Linked DNA regions of Homo sapiens: all the other regions are linked to region 1. The links are contacts of gene promoters, found by promoter capture Hi-C in human tissues and cell types (Jung and others, 2019). All regions are on one chromosome and are shown on one strand. The core of a region is centred on a gene start or on the middle of the fragment in contact, and the rest is flanking DNA. Distances in the headings are between cores, read along the strand shown.

Region 1 (6,435 bases), core at 2,526-5,025:
GAATCCCCCAAACAATAGTTCCAAAAGCAGCTGAATAAAAGAGTTGAAAAATTTTGGAACAATTACTGATCCCTGAAATTAGCTTCTGAAGAGTAGTCTTTAAAGTCATTCTTGTATAATCATAACATTTCTAGGCTGAACTTTCCTAGTAAAATTTGGGATGTTATAACTCATCTTCCTTATTCCAACTCCTTGCCAACATCAGAGTTTTCAAGACCCTCATTAACTTCTCCTTAAAGTGAATTTCTGGAGCTGGGCTTGGTGGCTTACGCCTGCAATTCCAGCACTTTGGGAGGCTGAGGCAGGAAGATCACTTGAGGCCAGGATCAAGACCAAACCAGAGCAACAAAGAGAGACCCCTATCTCTACAAAAATAAAAAAATACAAAAATTAACTGGGCATGGTGGCACTCCTGAAGTCTCCCAGCTACTTGGGAGGCTGAGGCAGGGGGATGCTTGAGCCTGGGAGATTGAGGTTGTGGTGAGCCAGGATTTTGGCCACTACACTCCAGCCTGGGCAACACAGTGAGACCCTGTCTCAAAAAAAAAAAAAAAAAAAAAAAAATTCTCCTTCCTGCCCTGAAGTTGGGGCTTAAAATAAAGACTCTTGAAGTCTTCTACTTCAGGATTACCTTAGGCTTCTAAAACATGGATACAGCTTTTACTCTTTTCAGGTGTACGAAGGAGGTTTTAGCTTGGGTGAACAAAGGGATAAGGATCAGTCAGATGACCATAGGAGGCAACGTTTTAATTGGGATCCCAGGGACAACTGATACCCATGAAGCTTTATCTGTTTCTAGATGACCAGTTTTATGTATGTGCTTAAGGACAGCACTTTTGGAAACCCCATCAACAGGTCGTAATTGTGGGACATGACAAGAGTGCTCTCAGTACATTGTGAGTTTTATAGTAGGTTACCTAGAGTCCCCACTGGCTCACAGGGCTTCCTCTAAAAAAAAAAAAAAAAAAAAAAAAAAAAAAAAAAAAAGGCGCGGTGGCTCATGCCTGCAATCCCAGCACTTTGGGAGGCCGAGGCGGGCGGATCACCTGAGGTCAGGAGTTCGAGACCAGCCTGGCCAACATGGCGAAACCCCATCTCTACCAAAAATACAAAAATTAGCAGGACGTGGTGGTGCGGGCCTGTAATCCCAGCTACTTGGAAGGCTGAGGCAGGAGAATCGCTTGAACCCGGAAGTTGGAGGTTTCAGTGAGCTGAGATCGCGCCACTGCACTCCAGCCTGGGTGACAGAGCGAGAGTCCATCTTCAAAAAAAAAAAAACAGAAAAAGTAAAAAAAGAAATCTTGGCAGAAGCATTTCAATAAGCTACTTGGGGGAGTGAAAATGGGGACTCTTTCCTTGCGGATACTACGGACCTTAAGACAAAGACGGCTCCACTCCAGCAGTGGGGAAAGGCAGCAAGTGCCGCTGGAATCCGTGGGGATCACACTCAACTGAGCCCTGCTGCTGGGGACCGGGTAACGTCCGCAGGCTGAACTTCATCTCAAGAAGAGAGTTTTAGGTTTTCATGCTGCAGAGAAATCCTTTAAAAAGGCACCAAAGGGCATGGAACTATCTTCTACCAAGGACCTTTCTCCTCCATTCTCCTATTTCGCAGTTAACTCAAGAGGCGGGAGATTTTCTCCGGGGAACAAGACATTCTAAGCACCTCCCTAGGTCGAAGTTAGGTTTTAAGGTGTGGAATAGGGTGGGCCCCGAGGTTCCGTGGGGTTCGCGCTTCCATATAACCCCTAGGACTTGCATCTCTTTACTCCCCTGCTTCTTGTCCCCCATTCGAGGGATTCAAGTAGTGGGGTGTCCATTCGGGCCTCTTTGGAAAGCGGGGCCCCACCCTGGCTGGACTACGTGAACTTTTAGGGGCAGCCAAAAAGTATCCGGTGACGAGGATGCAGGGCAGCTTCTGGAAACCTGATGATCTCAGCTCCTCCCTCTCGCTGTCCGGGTCCTAGGCACAGACTGGGCACCCCCCAACCCACCCACCGCGGCCCCGGCCCCCTTCCCGGCCCTGCCCCTCCTCCCGGCTGCCCAGGCCTCCTTTCACACCTGCCGCCAGCTCAGGTCCCGCTTTTGCACGGTAGAGAGACGGCGTCGAGGTCCTGGCCGAGGGTAGGCACTGGGGGCAAAGCCGAGGGAGCGCGCGAGAGAGGGTAGGCAGCCCCTCACCCCGGGGGAGGTGGGCGATTCGGGACTGACGGAGAGAAGTCCCGGGCCCGCCGGGCTGTGGGCGGGGAGGAGGGGGTGGAGCCGCCGGGGAGGGCGGTGCCGCGGGGAGCGGAGCCCAGCCTCTCCCCCCACCCCCTTTGGTGCCGGAGTCTCAGTGACACAAAAAGCTCTCGCTCGGTGCCGAGCGCCTGGCGGCGGTGTCCGACCGCGAACGCGGAGGGCGGCCGGGCAGGTGGGGGTGCCGCCCGAAGGGCCGGGCCGGGTGCTGGGGCTGCAGGCGCCGCCGCCGCGCTGTCAGCGTCCGCCCCGTGGCTCTCGGCCGGAGGAGCGGCGGCCGCCGGCCCGGGGCGCGAGTCTGGCTGAAAGGAGCGGGCGCGCCGGGACCACCCGGCGATGCTGTCGCCGCCGCCGCCGCCTCTGTAGCGAGCACCCGAGCCCGCCGCGGAGAAAGGTCAGTGAGTTTCGGTTTGTTTCTCTGCTCTGCCGGCTCCGGATCGGGGGCGGACAGAGGGGTGCGCAGGGATGTCTGCGCCCCTACGGCGGCCGCGCCGAAGCCGTGGAAGCGGGAAAGGGCAGCTGCCGCCTGCTGTAACTGGGGAGATCTTCTGGACCGCGGAGGGGGTGGCGGGGCCGCAGGGTCCCGGGGAGGGGAGCGCGGGGTCTGGCGGGGCACGGGGGAGGTGGTCCCGGGAGTTGCGTGTCTCCTGAGAGCTGGCGGAGTTGGGCGGGCGGCCGCGGCGGGGAGCGGCGCTGTCGGCTGCTCGGCCGAGTCCTCGGATGCCCCCTGGAGCTCCGGTCCGAGGGAGCTTTCCTCGTGCCCGCGCCGCGCGCGCCCCTGGGTGTGCACGTGCGCGCGCGCCCGCCCCAGTTGCGCCCCCGGCCCGCACACACCCCGGCTCATCTTCTCCCGGTCCCCTTGTCTCGCGCCTTCTCCAGCCCTAGAAGTTGCCCCAGGGCCCCTCCCGGGATTAGAGAGCGCTGTGAAGGGCCAGATGTTGGGGGTCTTTTGTGCAGACACACGCGCCTGGGGCGCTTGCTCCTGGAAGGACAGCGGCAGGACAAAGCCAGCTGGACTCGTGGGGCGCTGCTCGGGAAGCGGCGGTCCCCAATCCCGCCTGGGGTCGGGGCATGGCTTGGGGAGCGCTGCCTGGGTCTGGAGAGAGTAGAGAAATCGCCAAAGCAGAGTGACGGTGACTTGATGAGGTGACGGTGACTTGATGAGGTGGCGGTGACTTGATGAGGTGGCGGACAGGGGCAAACGAAAGAAAGATGCTCGGGATTGCCGCGCTGTGTGCCTGTCTGCGCGGCTGACTAGGCGCCCCGCATTCCCATATGACCGGGTTACCTGGTAGATTTTGCCAGTGTGTCTTTGCCCCAAGATGTTATTCCCCACCTGCTCCGATTTCTTTCTTTCCTAGGGCTTACTGTTGCTAGTAGGCGCTCTGCCACCAGAGGGGAACTCGTGGGCGGGGGAGACTGCGGAGGAGGGGGGAGGTGGTTATTTATCCTGTAGAGACAATTAGGAGCCGTGACGCCCCCTTCTCGGCCGCCAGCCCTCCACACCTCATCTGCCTTGCTCCACCTCCCTAGTGCACCCGCTCCAGCCCCGTCTGCCCAGGAGGGCGCTTGGATTTCCTTCTCCGCGGCGCGTATCTAACCCTTCCTGCATGTATTTCACTGCAGGCTGAAGAAAGCTCAGTCTCAATTGTGTTTCCTGCCTGTCAGCCTCTTGCCTCCTAAACGTGTACCATTTCCACTTGATGTCATCACGCAGAAGGGGTGAAAGAGACTCGGTGACAGATACAGGTAACCCCCCACGATCTGGGTAGCGCCTGGGTGTCTCTGGGTCATTTGGGCCGACAGTGCTGGCACAGGGCTGTTTGGGTGGTTTCTGCATCAACATCGTTCCTATCTGTGAGAAGGTGTGGGGGCTGCTAAAACTCCTGGTTCAAAGAAATAAATTGCAAATGACTTTATACCTTCCCTTTGAAGAAGCCATTGGAGGTAGGTGCAGGGTGAATTTGGGATTGTAGAAATCCCACCTGGTTTCCTTTCATGGGAATTTTGATATAATTCATACACAGGCAGTTGTATCTGAATGTTAGGTTTCCATAGATGCCTGCTTTCTTATCTGTAGTAATAGATTTAGGCTTCAGTCTAGAGGTGGGGTATCCTTTGTTGAAAAGGTATCATTGGAAGGCTGATTGTACTTTTGCCCAGTGCTCTAATTGAGCACCGGTCAAATGCAGTGACCTTCGTATGAAATACTGTCTTTCTTCTGTTCCTTCATTGTAATAGTGTTTGCAATATTAAGAGAGACATGCTAGCAGTGAGTACTGGGAGGTGGAAGGGAGGGCTGTTGGGGGCAGCAGAAAGAGAACAGAGAAAACAGCTTGAGTGAAGTTTCCATTTAGATAGCCATGAACCAGTAGACTCTCATTCTGGATTTTATCTTTAGGTTATTGGGGCTTTTCCAAAAACTCTGGCCTGTTCTTTTCTTTCCAAGGATAGTTCTGTTTTGATGTCAGCCTAGCCAGATCTGGGGTTATCTTGATAAGAGTGCAATGAAAAAACGTAACCTTCAGACTTAGCAGGACACTCCGGCATTAGCATTTTCTGCTAGAGGGCAGAGTCCTGCGCATCCTACACTAGTAGCAGGGAATAAGAATGGTTATGGAAATGGGCTTTCGATTTTTCTTGTAGGAAGACAGATTGCTGAGGGCCAAAGGCTCCTGGTCTACTCTCTTTTACATTGCAGTAACACCTTGGTATCTGTGACAGATTCTCTCTTCACCATTTTCCTCCAAATCCCTTGAAAAATGAAGTTAAAAACTTGAAAGATTTATTATTCACCTCCAATGTAGTTTTGTTTTGGAAGGTGACTTTAAAAACATAGGTGACACTAGCATTTATCCTTCTACTACAAGCATTCAGGAGTCACTAGTAAAAGCAGTTGAGTTATCTAGTCCCAGGTGAAACAAAGGCCAGTGCTTTGCAAAGATCAGATGAGTAATGTGGTGCTAAGATAGAGGTATTTTTGACAAGTAATTTTTATGTCAGCAATAGTACAGGGTGTGTACTGTGTTGCTGCAAGAAGAAAAAACATGTGATGGGATAATAGGGAATGTAATAATGCAATAGAAACAAGGGTGTGGTTTTTTTTTTAATAGAAAGAATAAACACTTCGCACACAAAATTCCACATGGCAAAACAGTAGCCTGCCCATGTAAATGCACGTCCAAGAACAAAGATAGCCACAGTGCAGTGTTAGGTTTCATTGTGGTTTTAAATTGTGTACAGTAATAAATCATAATAAAGTGTCCATTGATGCTTAATTTTTTTTATATAAGAAGGAGGCTCCCCACCCTCAGATGTGTTTAGCTTTAGGCTGGAGGATCCCTAGAGGCTATTAGGCTGATCTCTGCCTCCAATGCCTGCTTCCTTTCTACAATGCTCATTTATTCATTTAGCAGATGTTTATTGGCACCTGATAGATAATGGACTCTGTGATAGATAATGGACTCAAGGGGTTGGGGTTGGGTGTAGGGGGAGACACAAAATTGAACTCCCTATAGGAAGACCTGATTCTAATTAACTTCAATGGAAGCTCAAGAGAGGTAGGATTGGACTTCTGGGGAGAGAAAATATGGTCATCCAGCCTCAACTTTAATGCCTCTTTCATTGAGGAGCTCACTGCTTCATAAATGGCTGTTGCTGTTGTCAGAAGGTGGCATTTTCATTGTAGTCTTTTTAGCTGAATTCCATACAGTTCGGTCCTTACATTGTTGAGGGTCATTCTGTTTTCATTTCTAATTCCCTCAGAGTTGTTTGAACCCACCTATGCTGTCAGCACCCTCTGCTTTTCAAGGTAGTGTTCAGTTCCTGATGAAGTTGAATTTTGAAACAAATGTTGCTTTTCCATATTATCTGATTTAGAAAACAGATTGATGGGATGCTTTTGCAGATTTTTCTCTTTTTTAAACAGTGACGTACCAGCAAGATAGGTGAGGTTATGCTGCAGTAACAAATACCTCCAAGTCTCCATAGCTAAATACAGTTTCTTTCCTTCCCATGCTGCATCCAGTGTGGTTGGCAGGTGGACCCTGCTCATCGTAGTCACTCAAGGACTCAAACTGATGGAGTCTTGGTCTTGATGTGAGCTTGCAAGATCATTGCAGCATCGGGAAGGAAATGCTGCAGGGTCTTGCTCTAGCAATTATGTGATCCTACCCAGAGGTGAGTTCCATCACTTTG
Region 2 (6,435 bases), core at 1,813-4,312, 110 kb before region 1:
CTTCTTTTGCTTCTTTCTCATTTTCTTTTGCCGTCACCATGTAAGAAGTGCCTTTTGCCTCCTATCATGATTCTGCAGCCTCCCCAGCCATGTGGAACTGTGAGTCCAATTAAACCTCTTTTTTTTCTTCCCAGTTTTGGGTATGTCTTTATCAGCAGCATGAAAAGGGACTAATGCATGTCTATTTAAGTCCTTTGCTTACTTTTGAATCAGGTTGTTTTAATTAAGGATTGCTTAAACTCTATCAGGACTATAGACACCAAGGAAGTTTGTGTGTGAAGACACTGATTTTATGCATTTTATGCTTACAAGCTAAGAATAATTTAAAAACTGTGCTCAATCATGCCAGAAGGAAAAGTGATTATTTTTCTACTTTCCTTATAGAAAATAACGGTAAAAAACAACTGAAATATAAAGAGTTATTTTAAAAGTATGCAGCCCAAATACGTAAAGATACAAATGTAGGAGTGTATCAGGCAGTTAAATAATCAAAAATATTATGGAATTTATGAATGTTACCTTAAATAGCTATTTTTAAAGAGGGGAGGAGTTTTGCAGATGTGATTAAAATAAGGATCTTGACATGAGGATATTGTCCTGGATTATCCAGGTGGGACCTAAAGGACCTTCACATTATTTATTATATTTGTCAGCTTTTAAAAACTGCAATTTGATGTGATTTTTCCCATTCTAAATGTATATTCATATTTGTATTTAATTTTAATTTTATATACTTTTTCTTTAAGATGGATGCCAAAATTGTATAAGCTTCAGGCTCTTCTGCCCACTGATCATTCCTGCTTAGTTTTCTTCCTCGATTCTTCCTTTTCTCTCTCATTTCCAAACTTTGGGGTGTCCCAGGATTCGGTTCTCAGACTTGTCACCATCTAGATTCACTCCATAGATACAGGTAGTCAGGGTTTAATCAGGGAAGCAGAATCATGATGAGTATTACTGAATGGGGCTTGTTATTGGAGTAAGACCTCATACAATTGTGTAAGAAGCTAGGGAAGGAAGGGTCTGAAAGGGGGAGTTGAAGAGATGAGAGAAAAGTCACTACCAGCCCTCCTGAAGCACTGGGGTGGGCGGACGAGTTTGTGCTTCCAAAGGCACACCCAGCTGCAAAAGTGGGACTGGGAAGGAGAGACATAGATGTCCGGGGAAGGCTGTTGCCGCCAAGCTGGCTGGTGGGCCTGGGGCTGCTGTTGTCACAGGAGAAGCTGGATGCAGTGTGGGGAAGACCGAGAGGCTGGAGTCCCCCGCCCCTCTCTGTCTGTCTCCCTCAGTATCTAATCAGACACCCCTGGAAGAACAATGGCAGCTGCTTCACTTCTACCTTCCAGTCTTATGAGAAGTTCTTTCTTGGTCAATGCTAATGTATAACCGTACAAGGAAAGAAGTTCTGGACATGTAATTACAGTTTAGCCAACTTAACACAGTTTCAGACTGCCACACTGTGTAGCCTCACTTTGTCTTATGGCTTTACATTCTACCTGTATACCAATGATTCACAACTGTATAGGCCCTGTCTGACCTTCTCTGAAATCCAGACTTAAGTCTAACTCCCTATTAAAGCACGATTTGTATATTTTATAGGGTTTTCACATTTAACATCTCCAAAACTGAGTTCGTCCTCTTATCTGAACCTATTTTTCCAGAATCTGCCTCTGAGAAATAGTGCAAAGACCAAAAGCTTTGGGGTCACCTTATTTCTTTCTCTCCCACTCAAAAAGTAATCTAAAAATCCTACAGGTTATTCCTTTAAAAAAATTCATTTTCTGATCCCTTCTATAATAAGCTGAAAAAATGCTCTCCAAAAGACTTTCATATCCTAATCTCTGGAATCTGTAAATGTTATTTTATATAGCTACTTAAAAGGGAGGGGGGAACGTCTTTGCAGATGTGATTAAGGATATTGAGATGAGGGGATGATCCTGGATTATTCAGGTGGGACCTAAATACAATGACATGTATCCTTACAAAAAGGAGGTGGAGGGAGTCTTGATAGATACAGAGGAGAAGGGGATGATGGAGCAGAGAGAGAGAGGAAGAGAGAGGCAAGAGAGAGAAAAGAGATGAGAAGATGCTGGCCTTGAAGACTGGAGTGATGCAACCACAAGCCAACATCCACCAGAGGCTGCAGGAGCCAAAGAACAGATTCCCCACTAAGCTTCTGAAGGGCATGCACCTTGCTGACACCTAAATATTGGCTCAACAATGCTGATTTGGGACTTCTGCCCTCCAGAACTGTGAGAGAATAAATGTCTGTTGCTTTATATCACCAAGTTTGCAGTACTTTGTTATAAGAAATGAATATACCTTCTTACCATTTTCTCTCCGATAACCCTGTTTCAGAGTACCCTCATCTCTTGTGTGGAGTATCACCTAGCCTCCGGTCTAATGGGTCTCTCTGTGTCTGTCCTTGTTCCACCCCCTATAGTCTAGTTCAACACAGCAGTCAGATGAATATTTGAAAATAGAAGTCAGATCATGTCACTCCTTATTCGAAAACCATCAGTTATCTCCTGTCTCATGTAGAGTAAAACCTCAATTTCTCAAATAGTAATAGTCTACACAGGCCTATGGGATTGGCTTGCTTCTGACTGGCTCACTTTATCTCTGATGCTTCATATTAGTAGCATCAGCTTCCTTGGTGCTTCTCAAGTATGCTACACGTGTTCCTGCCTCAGAACTTTGGCACTTGCTTCTTCATCTGTATAGAGTGCACTCCCTGTCTGATATGGTTTAGATGTTTGTCCCCTCCAAATCTCATGTTGAAATGTGATGCCCAGTGTTGGAGGTGGGGTCTGGTCGGGGGTTATGGGGGAGAATCCCTCATGAGTGGCTTAGCACCATCCCCTTGGTGATGAATGAATTCTTGCTCAGTTAGTTCGTGCAAGATCTGATTGTTTAAAAGAGTCTGGGACCTCCCCCTTCTCTCTCTTGCTCCTGCTCTAGCCACATGTTGTTCTTGGTTCCACTTTGTCTTCCACCATGATTGTAAGCTTCCTGAAGCTCTCACCAGAAGCCTAGCAGATGTTGATACCATGCTTGTATAGCCTGCAAAACCGTGAGCCAATTAAACCTCTTTTCTTTTTAAATTATCTGGTCTCAGATATTCCTTTATAGTAACACAAGGATGCACTAATACAGAAAATTGATACTGAAGCATGGGACATTGATATAAAGATACCTGAAAATGTGGTAGTGGCTTTGGAGCTGGGTATCAGGCAGAGGGTAGAAGAGTTTGGGGGGCTCAAAAGAAGACAGGAAGACAAAGGAAGGTTTGGAACTTCTTAGAGGCTGGTTAGGTGGTTGTGACCAAAATGCTGATAGAGATATGGACAGTGAAGTCCAGACTGATGAAGTCTCAGATGGAAATGAGGAAGTTATTGCGAACTGGAGCAAAGGTCACCCATTTTATGTTTTAGCAAAGAACTTAGCTGCATTGTGTCCATGTCCTAGGGCTCTGGAAGTTTGAACTTAACAGTGATGACTTAGGGTATCTGGTGGAAGAAATTTCTAAATAGTAAAGCATTCAAGTTGTGGCCTGGCTCCTTCCAATAGCCAGGATCAGATGTAGGAGCAAAAGAATGATTTAAAGTTGGAACCTATATTTAAAAGGGAAGCAGAGTGTAAAAATTTGGAAAAGTCACAACCTGGCCATGTGATAGAGGAAAAAAGAGCATTTTCAGGAGAGGAATTCAAGTGGGCTGTGGAGCAACCACTTGCTAGATTAGCATGACTAAAAGGAAGCCAAGTGCTAATATCCAAGACAATGGGAAAAGTCCTGGAAGGCATTTCAGAGATTTCTGAGGCAGCCCCTTCCATCATGGACCCAGAGGCCTAGAAGAAAAGAATGGTTTCAGGGGTCAAGCCCTGGGCTCTGCTTCCCTGTGCAGCCTCAGGACACTGCTCCCTGCATTCCAACTGCTCCAACTCCAGCTGCAGCTGCAGCTCAAAGGAGTCCAGGTAAAGCTTGAGCCACAGCTCTTGAGGGTGCAAGCCACAAGCCTTGGCAGTTTCCACATGGTGTTAAGTGTGAAGGAGGCTTGGAGGATTCCAGCTGGATTTCAGAGGATGGGTGGAAAAGCCTGGGTGCCCAGGCAGAAGCCTTCTGCAGAGGTGGAGCCCCCACCAGAGAAACTCTACTAGGGTGGTGCAAAGGAGAAACGTGGGGTTGGAGACTTCATGCAGAGTGCCTACCAAGGGACTGCCTAGTGGAGTGGTGGGAAGGAGGCCACCACCCTCCAGACCTGAGAATGGTTGATTCATTGGCAGCTTGCATCCTCTGTCTGGAAAAGCCACAAGCACTCAATTCCAACCCATGAGAACAGCCACATGGGCTGCACCCTGCAAAGCCACAGAGACAGAGCTGCCCAAAGCTTTGAGAGCCCACCCCTTTCACAATTGTGCCCAGGATGTGGGATATAGAGTCAAAGATTATTTTAGAATTTTAAGATTAAATGACTGCCCAACTGGGTTTCAGACTTGTTTGAGGCCTATTACCCCTTTCTTTGGCTGATTTCTCCCTTTTGGGATGGGACTGTATCCTCAATGCCTATACTACCATTGCATCTTGAAAGTAAATAATTTGCTTTTGATATCACAGCCTCATAGGTGGAAGGAACCCATCTCTAGATAAGACTTTGGACTTTGGGACTTTTGAGTTAAGGTGAGGACAAGTTAAGACTCTGGGGGACTATTGCAAAGGCACGATTGTATTTTGAAATGTGAGAAGGACATGAAATTGGGAGGGCCAAGGGTGGAATGATATGGTTTGGATGTATGTCCCCTCAAAATCTCTTATTGAAATGTGATTCCCAATGTTGAAGGTGGGTCCTAGTGGGAGGTGATTGGATCATGGGGGCAGATCCCTCATGAACAATGTATTAGTCCATTTTCATGCTGCTGATAAAGGCATACATAAGACTGGGCAATTTACAATAGAAAGAGGTTTAATGAACTTACAGTTCCACATGCTGGAGAGGCCTCACAATCTTGGTGGAAAGCAAGGAGGAGCAAGTCACATTTTACATGGATGGCAGTAGGCAAAGAGAGAGAGCTTGTGCAGTGGTACTCCTCTTTTTAAAACCATCAGATCTTGTGAGATTTATTCACTATCATGAGAACAGCATGGGAAAGACCTGCCCCCATGATTCAGTTACCTCCCAGCAGGTCTTTCCCACAACATGTGGGAATTCAAGATGAGATTTGGGTGGGGACACAGCCAAACCATATCAAATGGCTTAGCACCATCCATTTGGTGATGAGTGAGTTCTCACTGAGTTCACATAATATCTGGTTGTTTAAGTCTGAAACCTCTTCCTTCTCTTTCTTGCCCCTGCTCTCACCATGTGATATGCCTGCTCCTGCTTCACCTTCTGCCATGATTGTAAGCTTCCTGAGGCCTGAACTAGAAGCTGACCAGATGTTGGTGCCATGCTTATATAGCCTGCAAAACCATGAACCAATTAAACCCCTTTTCTTTATAAATTACCCAGTCTCAGGTATTCCTTTATAGTAATGCAGAAATGGCCTAACACATTGTCCCCTCCATGGCCATGTGGTTTACCTCTTTACCTGATAGATAAGACCTTTTTCTGACCATCCTTTTCAAAATAACAACCCCCCAACCTCACTCCCCTGCATTTCTGTCCTTTTCCCTTCTTCTTCCTTTATAGTACATATATATATTCTTGCTTGGTTGTTTGTCCTCTCCCTTTAGCATATAAGCTCTGTGAGGGCAGGATATTTCTTTGTTTTTTTTCACTCTTGAATCCTATGCCTAGAAAGGGCTATGACACATAATGGATGCTGAATAATATTTGTTGAATGAATAAATTATCTAAGAATGCCAGGCTAGTTTTATATTACAAATATTTTGCTCCATTAAAAGGTCATGTGTTGAGTTGCAATAGGCAGCAGAAAATATCAGCCAACTCATTTCATGATTTTATTAATATTCCTTGGAGACAGGATGCTTGCACTTTTCAAAATGTCACTCTGGTCAGCAACTGAGCCCTATGCTGCTATTCTGTTGTAAGGTATATAATGGGACTGTCATGCATTCCAGAAATGGAGATAAGATCATGTTTTTCCCAGCCCTCTGCTTTAAGCTGGAAGGAAAGGATCAAGTGGGAATATGGTATTACTTTAAAGGGCTTTTTCAATCTAACAGTCTTTGATCCCATCTGTGGGTTGAATAAGCAACATACCATTTCATTCATCCCTCTCAGCTCTGAGGTCCCTCTCTTCTAATTCTTCCTCTCCCTAGTCACTTCCTGTCACAGCAATGGTTTCAAAATTAAACTCCAATTCTAAAACAAATGAAGCAAAGGCAGGAAGGGGGAAATGAATCACAAGCATATGGGAACAGTTTTGTTTGAAAGCATGATCAGCATTCTTTGCAAACAAGCTGTGGCCATATGTGGC
Region 3 (6,435 bases), core at 1,786-4,285, 98 kb after region 1:
GGAGGTAAGGGCATCCTGTCAAGCACCTCATAAATCCTCATTCACTGTGCCAGAGTCATGTGTCTGTGCAAGTGGATTCACTGTTTATTTAAAAAGCAAACCAGAGGCACTCCTGCATTTCTTCCCATTTGCCAGGCCATTTGTGTCTAGATCAATAACTCTGAGACTCCTACAGTCTGCTAAAACTTTCAACATTTTTAAAAATTTTTCATTCTCATGACTGATAGCATATTGTTGAGCAAACTTTTATTTTCTGGGGATGCATAAGTAGGAAAATTATGGGGAGGGGAGATTTGTTCGTTTTTCTGACACAGGGTCTTGCTCTGTCACCCAGGCTGGAGTGCAGTGGTGCAAACACAGCTCATCAATCCATGGGCTCCAGTAATCCTCCCACCTCAGCCTCCTGAGTAGCTGGGACTACAGGTGTGTGCCACCACACCTGGCTAATTTTTTTTATTTTTTGTAGAGACAAAGTCTCACTGTGAGTGTTGACCAGACTGTTCTCAAACTCCTGACCACAAATGATCCTCCTGCCTTGGCCTTCCAGTGTGCTGGGATTACAGGTGTGAGCTCCACCACACCTGGCCAGGAAATTGTTTTGAGCTGATAATTCCATGGTGTGATGGTGGAAGGAAACCTGGACCACAGTAAGCAGATTTGGATCTAACTCATACTTTTCAGTTTGCTATCTGTATTAACCTTGGGAAAAATGAGTTCATCCCTCTGAACCTCAGTTTCTTCATCTGCAAAATGGGGATGAAAAAACCTATTCTTGCCTGACATAATTACTCTGGCATCAAGAAATATAATGAAGCTTGCAAAAATGCTTCAAAAAGCTGAAAAGTATAACATATATTAATGAAATGCTTCCCTTAACAGTGAGTGCTCATTAAATGCCTGTTAAATGAATGACTATAAAGACTAATAAAAGAAACACTGTATTTGTTCATTTTTCTTTTATTTCTTTATGGCCGCTGCCCTGATTTAGATGTTCATCAGGAATTTCCAATCTCCTCCTAATGGCCCTGTCTTCTGCTCTGTCTCTACCACCGACTCTTTACTAAAGCTGTGCGTTCCTTCAAATGAGACCACAGATCTCGGAGCGTGCCCTTCTCCTCATTAAACCTTTTTCTGGCTCCCTGTCATCAATAAGACGAGGGTCCAGGTAGCTTAGCATAACGACACACAGGTTCCTTATGAAACTCCTCCTACCTACATACCCCTCCAGTCTATTTCTAAGCTCCAGCAGTGTTAAACTATTTTAAATGTTCCCTGGATGCATTTGTCCATATGCTGTTTCTCCCTGCCTGTCAGTCTGGTCTGACTGGGAAACTCTCTTTCAATTTTCAAAATCCAGCACAGACGTCATATGCACCAGGAAGCTTTCTTGACCCTACAAGAGAGACCTCAGCTGTCCCTCCTCTGTGGTTCCCTGGTACGTTAAGGATTTGTATTCTTGTGTTTATCATCTTAGCATTCATTGGCTTATGTGTCTCTGTCCACTACTAGATTGTGATCTGCCTGTAAAGAGGGATAGGATCTTACTTACACATTTTTTCCTTCTGTCCACACCACCTTGTTTAGTCCTTGGCTATCAGAAAAGTTGATGCTCTCAGGGGCCATTGAAAGGCAAGTCAGGATTTCTGCACCTACATTGAATGGTGCAGCTTGTTCTGCTTGGATTCCTTTTTGTTTGTTTGTTTGTTTGTTTGTTTGTTTGAGACAAGGTCTGATTCTGTTGCCAAGGCTGGAGTGCAGTGGTGCAAACATGGCTCATCACAGCCTCGACCCCTGGGCTCAAGTGATCCTCCTGCCTCAGCCTCATGAGTAGATGGGATCATAGGCCCCCACCACCATGCCTAGATAATTTTTAGATTTTTTGTAGAGACAGAGTCTCACTATGTTGCACAGGCTGGTCTCGAACTCAGGGGTTCAAGTGATCCTCCCACCTCGGCCTCCCAAAGTGTTGGGATTACAGGTGTGGGCCACCACACCAGGCTGGATTCTTCCTTCCCAACCTTCCTTCTTCTGTTCTTCCCTGCCTCTTTTCCTTCTTTCTTTCCAAATATTTTTGTCAACTTCCCTACTGAGAGTTGTCCCTGTGAGCCTGCTCTGTAGTGTCCTCTGTTTCCAACTTTCAGTGTGAAGGCTGAAGATGAGGCCACTGTATGTCTTACGGGGAAATGTGCCCTGACTTGGGTAGCTCTTATCCTTACCATTAATAATCCTTTATCAATCATCAGTCTCTGGTTAGCAAATTGTCTGGATTAACTAATAAGGACTAATTTAAATAAATTATACAGAGTACTGAAATATACTTACATATTTATAAAGATCAACAGTTCTCTATCCTATAACCAGTCCCTGAAATGGAATGAAATTACTATAAGTTTTCTGAATAAATGCATGCTACCGTGTACATGTATATGCATGTTATGTATGACATTGGCTATTAGAATTATTATTATCCTGGTTTTTCAGATGAGGGTGCTAAGTCACAAAAAGGTTAAATAATTTTCCTAGGGCCTTATAGGTAGCTAATGGTGGCAAGGTTAAAATCCAAGCTGTCTGAAAACCATAGATTTGGATAAATCAATATCCTTTCCTTTTCAGAGAATTAAAGCTTTGAACGATGTATAATTAGGCCATTTTAATGCCAAAAGCATTATTCCTTTTGTATGTATTTACAACTAAAATAGAGAAAATGGTGAAGGAAATATGGGAGAAAAGAACAATATTTTTTAGAAGTGGGATACATGCTGCAACATGGATGACCTTGAAAACATGCTGAGTGAAATAGGTGAGGCACAGAAGGACAAATATTGAATGATTACCCTTCTATGATGTTTCTAGTGTAGGCAAATTCGTAGAGATAGAAAGTAGAATAGAGGTTACCAGGGACTAGGGGAGGGGAAATAGGAAGTTATTGTGTAGTGGGTACCAAGTTTTTGTTTGGAATGATGAAAAAGTTCTGGAAATTGATGGTAGTGATGGTTGCACAACACTGTGAATGCACTTAATGCCGCTGACTTGGCACTAACTCTCAAAAATGGAGAAATATTATTTCTATTTTTCCACAATAAAAAAAATGAAAATAGGCCGAGCGCAGTGGCTCACGCCTGTAATCCCAGCACTTTCGGAGGTTGACACGGGTGGATCACCTGAGGTCAGGAGTTTGAGACCAGCCTGGCCAACATGGTAAAACCCCATTTCTACTAAAAATACAAAAATTAGCCAGGTGTGGTGGCATATGCCTGTAATCCCAGCTATTCCAGAGGCTGAGGTGGGAGAATAGCTGGAACCTGGGAGGCAGAGGTTGCAGTGAGCTGAGATTGTGCCACTGCACTCCAGGCTGGGCGACAGAGCGAGACTCCATCTCAAAAAAAAAAAAAAAAAAAAAATTAAGATAAAAAGCAAATGAGGAGGAATGCTAGCAGTTTTGTAAGACCAAAGCTTCCTCCTGAGGCAGCCAAAGAGGTGGGAAGCGTAATAGAGACTCTGACACTTGCTCTCAGCAAACAGAGTTTAATTAGTCAGGACAAGGCCTTTTTCACCAGCTCTTACCAGTGCACCAGAGGCTCAGAACAATTACTGTTGACAGCAAAATCATGTGGCAGGGAGAAAAACATCTTAAGTTTCCTCTTTAAAATTAGGGAATTATCCAGAGTAAATGCACTGTGTCTATATCAGGGTAACCGGGGTTAAATATATTCTGCATGCACTAAAACTGAAGTCATTTGAAATGCAAAGTGTTGTGTGAGAGGAAAAGCTGCTCATTTAGCTGACCTGGGTCAGAGCTGCAAAGCGGTAGTCCCATCCAGCCAGAAACTGTGTTTTATTTGACCTACAAACATGTTTCTCTTAGTTGCCAATATTTTAAAATCTGGCTATTTCTTACAAATATCTGGATTTCTAACTTTTCTTGAAAAATCAGAAGATGTGTGTTATGAGTATCATAGAGTGGGTAGTGGTTCTTCCCCATATTCCCTGGACGTGCAGAATTAATATTTCTATCCTATACTTAGTCTCATTCATTTATGTTCTCTGGTTGGCCTCTGTGGCCATTTGAGTTCCCCATATCAGATTTAAGTCTAACCTTTCCGTTTTTGTTTTAATACATTTTTTGTAGAGATGGAGTTCTCACTTTGCTGCTCAGGCTGGTCTCGAACTCCTGGCCTCAAGCAATCCTCCTGCCTTGGCCTCCCAAAGTGTTAGGATTACAGGCATGAGCCCCTGCGCCTGGCCTTACCTTTCCTTTATCTCACCTCCTTAGTAAAACTTTTCCGTCTTTCAACTTCCTTCCTTAGTATCTCTTCATTCCTGTAGTAGTTATTATGTCTATACCACTTGGTTCTTATCACATATTATTTTTTATAATGTAATGTAGGCATGCCAGAAAGTTCCATATTTTCTAAAAAAGAAAATTTAATTATTTTGCCTCACTCTCTATTTCTGTTTCTGAAGACATAGTCAATGAATATATCTGTCTCATGACCCCAGCTAGATTGTAAGACCCTCAAGTGCATAGACCATACCTTAAGATGTTGTGGGTTTTTTTGTTTTTTTTTGTTTTGTTTTGTTTTGCACAAGCATAGATTGAGCTGTTGTCCATAATAAATCAATAGGTTTGGGATTGCCTTTAAGAACAAAGATAACTCATGAGTGCAGACTGGCTAGATTATCAATGGCTAGAGCATAGATGAAGAAATGGACTTCATCTCTCGGGAAGTCAAGGCATTTTCCATATCCGATGGCATTAAATTATCATGTCTCATCCTTTTGCCAATCCTTGTCCTTGTTTAAAGGGCAGAAAGTGTGATGGACTCATGCAAATTCATCCTTCAGTCCTGGGGGAGGAATTCATGGCTTCTGGATTGGCTTGATTATTTTTGCACAAGGAGGCTTTTCCTAAGATGATAAAGGCATTTTTACCAAAAGAAGATAGCAGCTGTGTAAGTTCATGCTATAGCATTTTCAGTGAATCAATGTTTAATTATGATTATAACTGTAACTGATAATGACTTATGTGTTAAGAAGAATGGTGGCTCAGAGATGAAGAAGGGAGGCTATGACAAACAGAAATTTTAAGACAGGGTAAATGAAGTTCATTGTTATTGAGAAGTCACAGTAATTTATATTAATAGGAAAAACATTCTTGAAATTTAAAGAAAAAATGTGAAACTAAATAAAATGTTGCAAAAATTGAGTTTCAATGTCTTGACCCTGTGTAGTTTAATACTTTCTAGTAAAGTCAAATACAGGAAGTCCTTGCTTTGCATGGCCCCAATTAGTGTGATTTTGAATAAATTTTTTTTTCACTTAAAATGTGTTTTAGTCCTCATGTGTGGAAGGCACTGTGGGGAGTGAGACAAGATGGGATTATGGTATAAATTTTGCCCCCAAAGGAAGGAATTTTAGAATGAAGAAAGGAGATGGGGAATATACAAAGGGACTATAATACAAGTTAAATATGATTTTCTTTAATGATAAGAATTAAAATTTACTGTCAGCTACTTGCCAGGCTCTGGGCTAAATACTTTCCACGATTTAACTTATTTAACTTTCACAACCACTGGGTACCTCCTTTTTCAAAACAAACAAACATAAGATGTGACTTAAAGATGGTAAATGATTTGTCCAAGGTAACACAGCTAGAAACTGTGCTGCTAACCATTGTGCCCTGTTGACTTGTCTAAATCTGATAAATATCACGACAGAGGTGTAACTGGAAGGCAAGAGTCTGCTTCTACTTAGGAGAAGGCAAATTAAGGGAGGCTTCTTGGAGGAAGTGGCCTCACTAGTGGCATTTGACTCTAATTTTACTGTATGCAGAATTACTTGGATTCAGGGAGAGGACATTCAAAGAGGTCTTAGTATAAACAGAGGCAGGGTGTTAAAAAAAAAAAACTTAAGAATACAATTAGGGAGGACAAGAAGTTTGTGCTTGTCTGGAATTGGAGGATAAAAAAAGGTACAAATAAGCTGAGAAGGAAAAATTGGGATAAGATCACACAAGAAGGCTTAAATGCCAGGCGAAAGAGTTTGAACTTTGTTAAAATCAAGCAATAGTAGCTATTGAAACTTTTGAACAGAGAGGTGGAATGAGGAAAGGCTGTGTCTTGCAAGGAATACACTGGCCAACTATGTGAAGGGTGGATTAGATCAGGACAGTCTGGTCAGACAGACCAATTAGGAGCCCTGAAAAGTGCAGTGGCAGTGAAATGGAAAGGCATGAAATGAGAGGCAGAATGGATGGCATTTGTGATGACTGTGGCAGGGGAGGGTCTGGGAAGAGGGAGGGAGGAATAAAAGATAACCTGGTGAAAAATCTAGATAATTCATTATTTTCTTCCAATTTACACTTTGTTTCCGCTTTAACATTTATCTTTGATCCCCAGACAGAAGTCAAATCGGAATTTTGTTGCAGACTTCTTT
Region 4 (6,435 bases), core at 1,133-3,632, 81 kb after region 1:
CTGCTACAAGTACGTGATAAATTCCTATCCCTGGGTGCATGTGCATTCAGAAATAGCTGTGAGCTTTACAGCTCTCATCTAACTTCTTTTATGGAATTCATGAAGCAAGTGGTATGTGACAAGGACTCCACTTATAAATATAACTGTTTTTATGTTCCACTGAATCCCTGAAAATGGTGAGGAGGGTGGGGGGAAGTGAAGGAAAGACAAGCAGGGCTAATTCCAAAAAGCAAGGCTAGAAAATAGCCCTGTGAGGTCAAGACAATTTAATTTATTTACATGCTGTCTGTTATCTTCAAGCAGCACAAAATATGCATATAAAAGTGATGGAATTAATGTGAAATAAAACAAAAATATAATGGCTAGAATACAAAGCTAATACTGCTAATTGGCATGAGAATTCAACATAAAATTGTGAGCTCTGATTTTTCAAATTGATCATAAAACCTTTAGGAAATGTATTTGAAAGCTCAAAATAGAAATTAGGTTAAAATGCCATTTTATTGTGTAAGCTCTTGGGCATTATACAACAAATAATCTAGGATTTATTTGGTATTAATAATTTAGGTGTCATATTAGCTGAATACTATCCTCTATTACATAACATAATATACTGTTGGGTTAGTGTCAATTTCTCAAACTCTCCCAGGCTGCCATAATGCATGTCTGACCTAATTTCTATTTCTCTTGGAGGAAAATACACACACACACACACCACAGAAGTGTTGCATTAAGAATGCTACATTTCGAATAGACTTTGCCCTTGCAATTTTAAGCTATGCCATATTCAGATTAATTTTGTGAGTGATATCTGCATATGTTTCTGTACAGTGTGAAATGACTGACCCTGTAGTATAGTACGTGATAGAGTTCTACTTGTTAAAGTAGGTTAGATATAGACACTAATGTGTGTGATGATAGTGTCCTGTGTTTCTTAGTGCAAATCTGTAGAGTAAAAATGTCCATAGAACTTTTACTTAAAAACAATCCCATGCTAGAGTTGCCATTAAGCAGTGCAAAATTAATCGGCTGTATGGTAGATTCTTGACCTTAAATTTAACAACAACAACCAAAATCAGATTTTTTTTGTGAGTCTTACTGACCTAAGAAACATTGTTTAAATTGTTTAAATGGATCTGCTTGCAGTTATTTGTGTACCTGTTTGTTGGGGTGTGCATTCTTGTGTATGTGTGTGTGTGTGTGTGTGTGTGTGTGTGTGTGTGTGAGAGAGAGAGAGAGAGAGAGAATCTCAGTCTCCCAGATAGAATTTTATAGGCTTAATGATGTTTTAATGTTGCTTGGCATCCCATTGCTCTGGCCTCTTCTGGCATTTACCAATGACCCTTAACAAACACATCTACCCATGTGACCAAAGTCCACTGACACAAGAGGCCAGGATTCATACTTGCACATTAATGAAAAGTCACAACTGGAAAGCACAGAAAGAGCTGAAAGCAGCCTCCGGTGGCTTCATTTTGTAGATGAGTCCGTTTTGTAATTCTGCAGAAAGGGGGGGATATGAACTTCGCACTGCAGTGTCTTCTTGCTCCATCCTAGGTCTGTCTATATCTCTATCTGGCTATGATCCTTTCTAGGGTTGATGAATACCCTTTACTGAGTCAACTATTGCTTTAAAGAATTTTTTTTGTAGGTTTATGTACTCATTTTAGTTAGCATCTACCTCTCTGGGAAAATGAAAGGAGGGTTGACTTAGGGATGAGTATAGATGTTGAAAGACAACTATCAAACCATGTGGTTTGAATTTTTAAAATTGTAAAACATTGGTGTCCAAACCTCCCACCCCACTTGTATGTAAAGGACAGTGAGTGTTGTATAAATAGTAAACTATAAGAAGCATGAATTTTCATCTTTATTAATGATCTTGAAATAAGGAAGAGAATGCTTAATATGTTAAGTAGAGCCAAGAATGCTACTAAGAAGCATTGTCTTTGGAAAAATTTTGTATAATGACTTGGGGCATAAGTTGTGATGAAAAGGCAACTTGGTTTTTGGTTCCAGTCATACTTAATGATCAGAAAGCTCTAAGATGTTTTCTTTAAAAATAGAATTAAGTTTAATTTTTTGCATGGCTTACAGATTGGGTCCCTTGAAGGTTAAACCATGTGATGGTATAACCTGTGAGATCTTCTAGATTGGCACTGTTCAATAGGGCTTTCTGTGATGATGGAAATGCTCGAAAACCTGTGCCGTCTGGTACGGTAGCCACCAGGCACATTGACTTTTAGGCAGTTAAAATGGGGTTACTACAAGGGAAGAACTGGATTTCAAATTTTATTTAATTTTAATTAGCTTAAATTTAAATAGCCCTATGTGTCTAGTGGCTGCCATATTGAACGATGCAGTTCTGGGTGATAGCGCTTGGGGATCCAGCATCAAGGTATTAATGGAGTAACAGTGAGGCTAAGGTGAGAGTTTGTGGGCTAGTGACATGCAGTTGGCAAAAGGCAAAACATTCCTTTCTGGGCTTAAAAAGTATGTGATCTCAAGTATGACAGTAAAAATTCATTGTTGCCCTTTGGAACTGTTGCTTATAGATTTTAGGCCAAGGAATGATCAGTGAAGCTTAAAGAATGCTTTATTAAGCCCCTTTTCTGGGATCATTAGCTGCATGTTAACCTATTGTCCAAAAATAGTAGTTAGACAGTACCTGTAAAACGTTTGACTTGCAAGCTATGCATGATCTGTACTGTGAAATTGTGTCTAGGGTCTTGTGGCCAAAAAGTAAATGTTACAGGAAAAAAAAAGCCTAATGAAATCCCTGTTCACTTCCAGTATCCTATCCAAACTTCATTGCTGTATTAGTAAGGTGCAAATATAAGAGCAAGCATGTTTTGCAGTGTTCAGACTGGTTTTGTTTGCCCTTGAAGTTGGCCAGCTTGTCGTTGTATTTGGTGTGGGCATATGTGGGCATCATTTTTCAGATGCCAAACTAAAATGTAGGTAGTATTTTTAGAATGAGATTTGACATTGTTTTAGTGTCTTTCTTTTTTAAGCAAAAATTTCAGTTATCCCTGAAAGAGTTGAAGATTTGAAGCTTTGCACAAAAGCACTTTTTTTAACAGTAAAAAATACTGCCCATGAAATTTAAAGACTTGAAGTTTACTAAAGCTACAATAATTACTTTTTAGCTAAATAAAAGGAAGCAGAAAATTCAGTTTGAGATATATTTCCTATAAAGACCAGATTCTTACTGATAATCTGGTATTTATTCCAGTCTAGATTTTGATTTTAAGAGTTCCCATCCCTTTATTTGAAAACTTATGTTGTTTCAAAATTGGTTAGTCTGCTTTTCATTGTTTTCCAAATGGAATATATACAAAATACATTTACTTCATTTTAGCAGAAATGGGTTGATTTTTTTTTTCTAGAACTCATCAATGTGCAAGACTTTCCTTCTTAGCTTGCCTTTAAAAATCATTTAATTTTTTTTTTTTTGCCAAGATACTAATCTTTCTTTAGCCTTAATAGGAAGATAGAAGTTCAAAAGTTATCGGTGCAAAAGGAGTGATACACAAAAGACTTCAATTTCTATCTTTTCTCAGAAAAGTGATGCTGCCCACCAGTCAGCATTTTGTTTCCACATAAGAAGTGTCAGGTAGTCAGTCTGTCATCCCTGACTTAGATAGAGAAGCTGTTCCTTGACATTTCCATCATTCTCAGTAAATTGTCACCTACAAGGTAATTCTTACCAAAACAGAAACTATTGAGAATAATAAGATAGTCGAGATAATTCAGTAGCTGTTTTGAAAGTAGTAGTCTATTTAAAAAGCAACGATGTTCAGTTGCTGGATTTTGTTCAACATGAGACACTTATTTATTTATTTATTTATTTATGAGATGGAGTTTTGCTCTTGGTGCCCAGGCCAGAGTGCAATGGCATGATCTCAGCTCACTGCAACCTCCGCCTCCCAGGTTCAAGCTATTCTCCTGCCTCAGCCTCCTGAGTAGCTGGGATTATAGGCATGCGCCTCCATGCCCAGCTAATTTTGTATTTTTTAAAGTAGAGACGGGGTTTCTCCATGTTGGTCAGGCTGGTCTCCAACTTCTGACTTCAGGCGATCCACCCGCCTCGGCCTCCCAAAGTGCTGGGATTACAGGCATGGGCCACTGCACCCAGCCAACATGAAACACTTCTAAAAGATAAGTGGAAATTCAAGCCATTGATTTTTCTGACACAACTGACTTACTACACACACACACACACACACACCACGATTTAGCTGTAATTGGAGTTAAAATTCAGTAAAAAACTGTTATTAGTCATGTTTTCCAATTTGTGAGTTATACAATATTGGATTAGATGCTAATTTCTTAACTGTTGCTATGGGCTGCATACATTATGTCAAACTAACTACCTTTGGGAGTGTCTATATAAACACTTGAAACTTTTCAAATATATGAAGAGGTAGGTTCTACTGTATACATTTTATTGGAAAGCCATTAATCATTGAAGAACTTAAGCAGGTGGGGCATTTAATTTCTTCCAAATACCTTATTTTTTGGATCTGCTCAAGTGGTTAGGGCGAGTGCACCATTATTCCCGAATCCCTGCAATTTGGTTCCCATTTTTCTGCACAAATTTTCTTGCTCAGTCGAGCCAATGACTTTTTTTTTTTTTTTTTTTTTCAGGATTCACTGCCTGGGGTATCCCACTATATATATCTCACCTATGATGTAGTGGTGCTTGAAATACTCATCTCATTAGCTCGATTTTATTATTCTAATCTAAGGTTTTTTATATTATTCATACTATGATATTTTTAGGGACAATCAGTAATATTTGGGGCAGAGTACTGAGGGACCTCTTGAAGTCTGCAACAGCATGCATTTTCTTTGTTTTTGTGGGAGTGCTTCCCTGTAGCTGTCTTTGTTCTAGAACACTGCTCCAAATTTATTTCCATGGGATGTAGGGCTAGTAGCCCATGTGAAAGTCTTCTGTAATCTCCTTGGGGTGTGAGTTATTGGGTTATTCTAACAGGAGTTTTCCAAAGGGATGGCCCATTTTTAATTCAACATTTGCTTTTTGAAAATCCAGAAGTAGACAGTTGGATATAATAGTGGTGGAAGAGCATGGGCTGTAAGCAGAAGGAAATAGAGATGACAAATGCCTCTTAAAGGGGATCTAGTTGATACCTCTGTTAAATAGTGGGAGAACACAGTAGCTGGTACCTTACACTGTGCTTTAGGAAAATCCTATGAGGATTTCATTTACAAATCCTCATAGGATTTTCTGGGTTGAGGGACAATGCAACTATTAAGTAGAGGGAGAGGGAGAGGGAAAGGGAGACATGAAGCACTGGGTCTATGTGAAGGGACAGGCAGATATACCCAAAGAGGGAGAAAATACTTAATAAAGGAAGAGTATAGCTGCAAAACAAGACATATAGGAGCTGAAGGCCAGATATGGCAGAAACCAGCTGGAGAAAGAAGCACAGGACAACTAGGACAACTTAGTCAAGCACAATCTGTCATTCCAGTACGGACTACCAAGTTCAATTCAGGATGCTTCAGTTGAAGACATGTGGGGTAATGTGCTCAGCTCATGAGGGTCCAAGGAGTCCCCATTTTCCCTATCACCCTATCCTATGCTCGTGGTTTGGATTGTTAGCACACTAGGCAATTTCAGAGTCCGCTCTAGAGTTGGTTGCCACGTCAGTGCAGACAGACTCTAGAATCCTCTTAACCATGGAATGCAAGGCCTGTTCCTGTGGATCTATCCTGACTTGAGTATGTCAGTACTGTTGGGAAAATGAGTTCAAGAATATTTCAGTTTATATATCCTGGTTGCCGTCATATATTTTTTCATTTCACCACTTGTTTGTGTTTGCCTCACTCAACAGTCATGGGTGTAGAAGCTGGTTTCAGCTTGGGGCTGTTACAAACTCCCTACATAAGCCATGTAGCTGCAATCCAGGGTTCCTCCCACCCTACGGCTTTAGCGGTGGGTTCTCTGGCCCTCTTGATAACAAATACTCCAGTCTAATGGCTATATTAATGCTGCTCAGAGGCTATTAACTCAAATCCTTGATGTGTTTCATTTACAATTATGTGGATTATTTATTTTAGGAGCTTTTTTTTTTTTTTTTTTTTTTTTTAAGGGCCAAATAGCCCTACAGATAAATGAGCTGCTGGGCTGTGTAGAAAATATTGTCCAAATGTTGCCAAATATTGACTTCGTAAAGGGGATATCAAGCTGCTGTTTATAAATCTGAATGTCTTAAAAGCATTCTTGCTTGCTCTCTCTGTTATAGATGGTGTCTTAGCCAGTCCTGAGTTTTCCAATGAACCCAATTTTAATATATGGTATTTTTGTATGCCAAACTGGTGTCTTGTCCTTTGTATATGTGGTAATGTTGATTTTATGACTACCGTAAAAACACATTTGCTATGATTAAAGTTCATAAAATGATTTCA

What was found. Contacts are between HindIII fragments. The study calls those that stand out against the background at their distance.
Region 2: a contact is called between a fragment that was not itself captured here and the fragment with the promoter of RNF152 in region 1, in 7 of the 25 tissues and cell types used here (H1 embryonic stem cells, IMR-90 fibroblasts, aorta and 4 more).
Region 3: a fragment that was not itself captured here is called in contact with the fragment with the promoter of RNF152 in region 1 in 8 of the 25 tissues and cell types used here (H1 embryonic stem cells, adrenal gland, aorta and 5 more).
Region 4: a fragment that was not itself captured here is called in contact with the fragment with the promoter of RNF152 in region 1 in 3 of the 25 tissues and cell types used here (IMR-90 fibroblasts, lymphoblastoid cells and stomach).

Annotation. Positions count from the first base shown.
Region 1 is chr18:61,890,347-61,896,781 of GRCh38, reverse strand. RNF152 (ring finger protein 152) reads left to right here and starts at 3,775. Exons shown (of 2, transcript NM_173557.3): 1 at 3,775-3,987. It overlaps LOC105372159 (a long non-coding RNA gene), which reads right to left and starts at 2,229. Exons shown (of 3, transcript XR_935562.3): 1 at 2,062-2,229. RefSeq lists silencers at 2,220-2,369, 2,440-2,589. The HindIII fragment of the contact is 14,100 bases long and covers 1-6,435 here.
Region 2 is chr18:61,998,955-62,005,389 of GRCh38, reverse strand. No RefSeq gene overlaps it. Among named protein-coding and RNA genes, the nearest start is that of RNF152, 110 kb to the right of the region's middle. RefSeq lists enhancers at 2,987-3,825, 3,826-4,665. The HindIII fragment of the contact is 3,662 bases long and covers 1,232-4,893 here.
Region 3 is chr18:61,791,477-61,797,911 of GRCh38, reverse strand. No RefSeq gene overlaps it. Among named protein-coding and RNA genes, the nearest start is that of LINC01544, 47 kb to the right of the region's middle. The HindIII fragment of the contact is 3,874 bases long and covers 1,099-4,972 here.
Region 4 is chr18:61,808,069-61,814,503 of GRCh38, reverse strand. RNF152 (ring finger protein 152) reads left to right here. Exons shown (of 2, transcript NM_173557.3): 2 at 1-6,435. Among named protein-coding and RNA genes, the nearest start is that of LINC01544, 63 kb to the right of the region's middle. The HindIII fragment of the contact is 4,940 bases long and covers 1-4,852 here.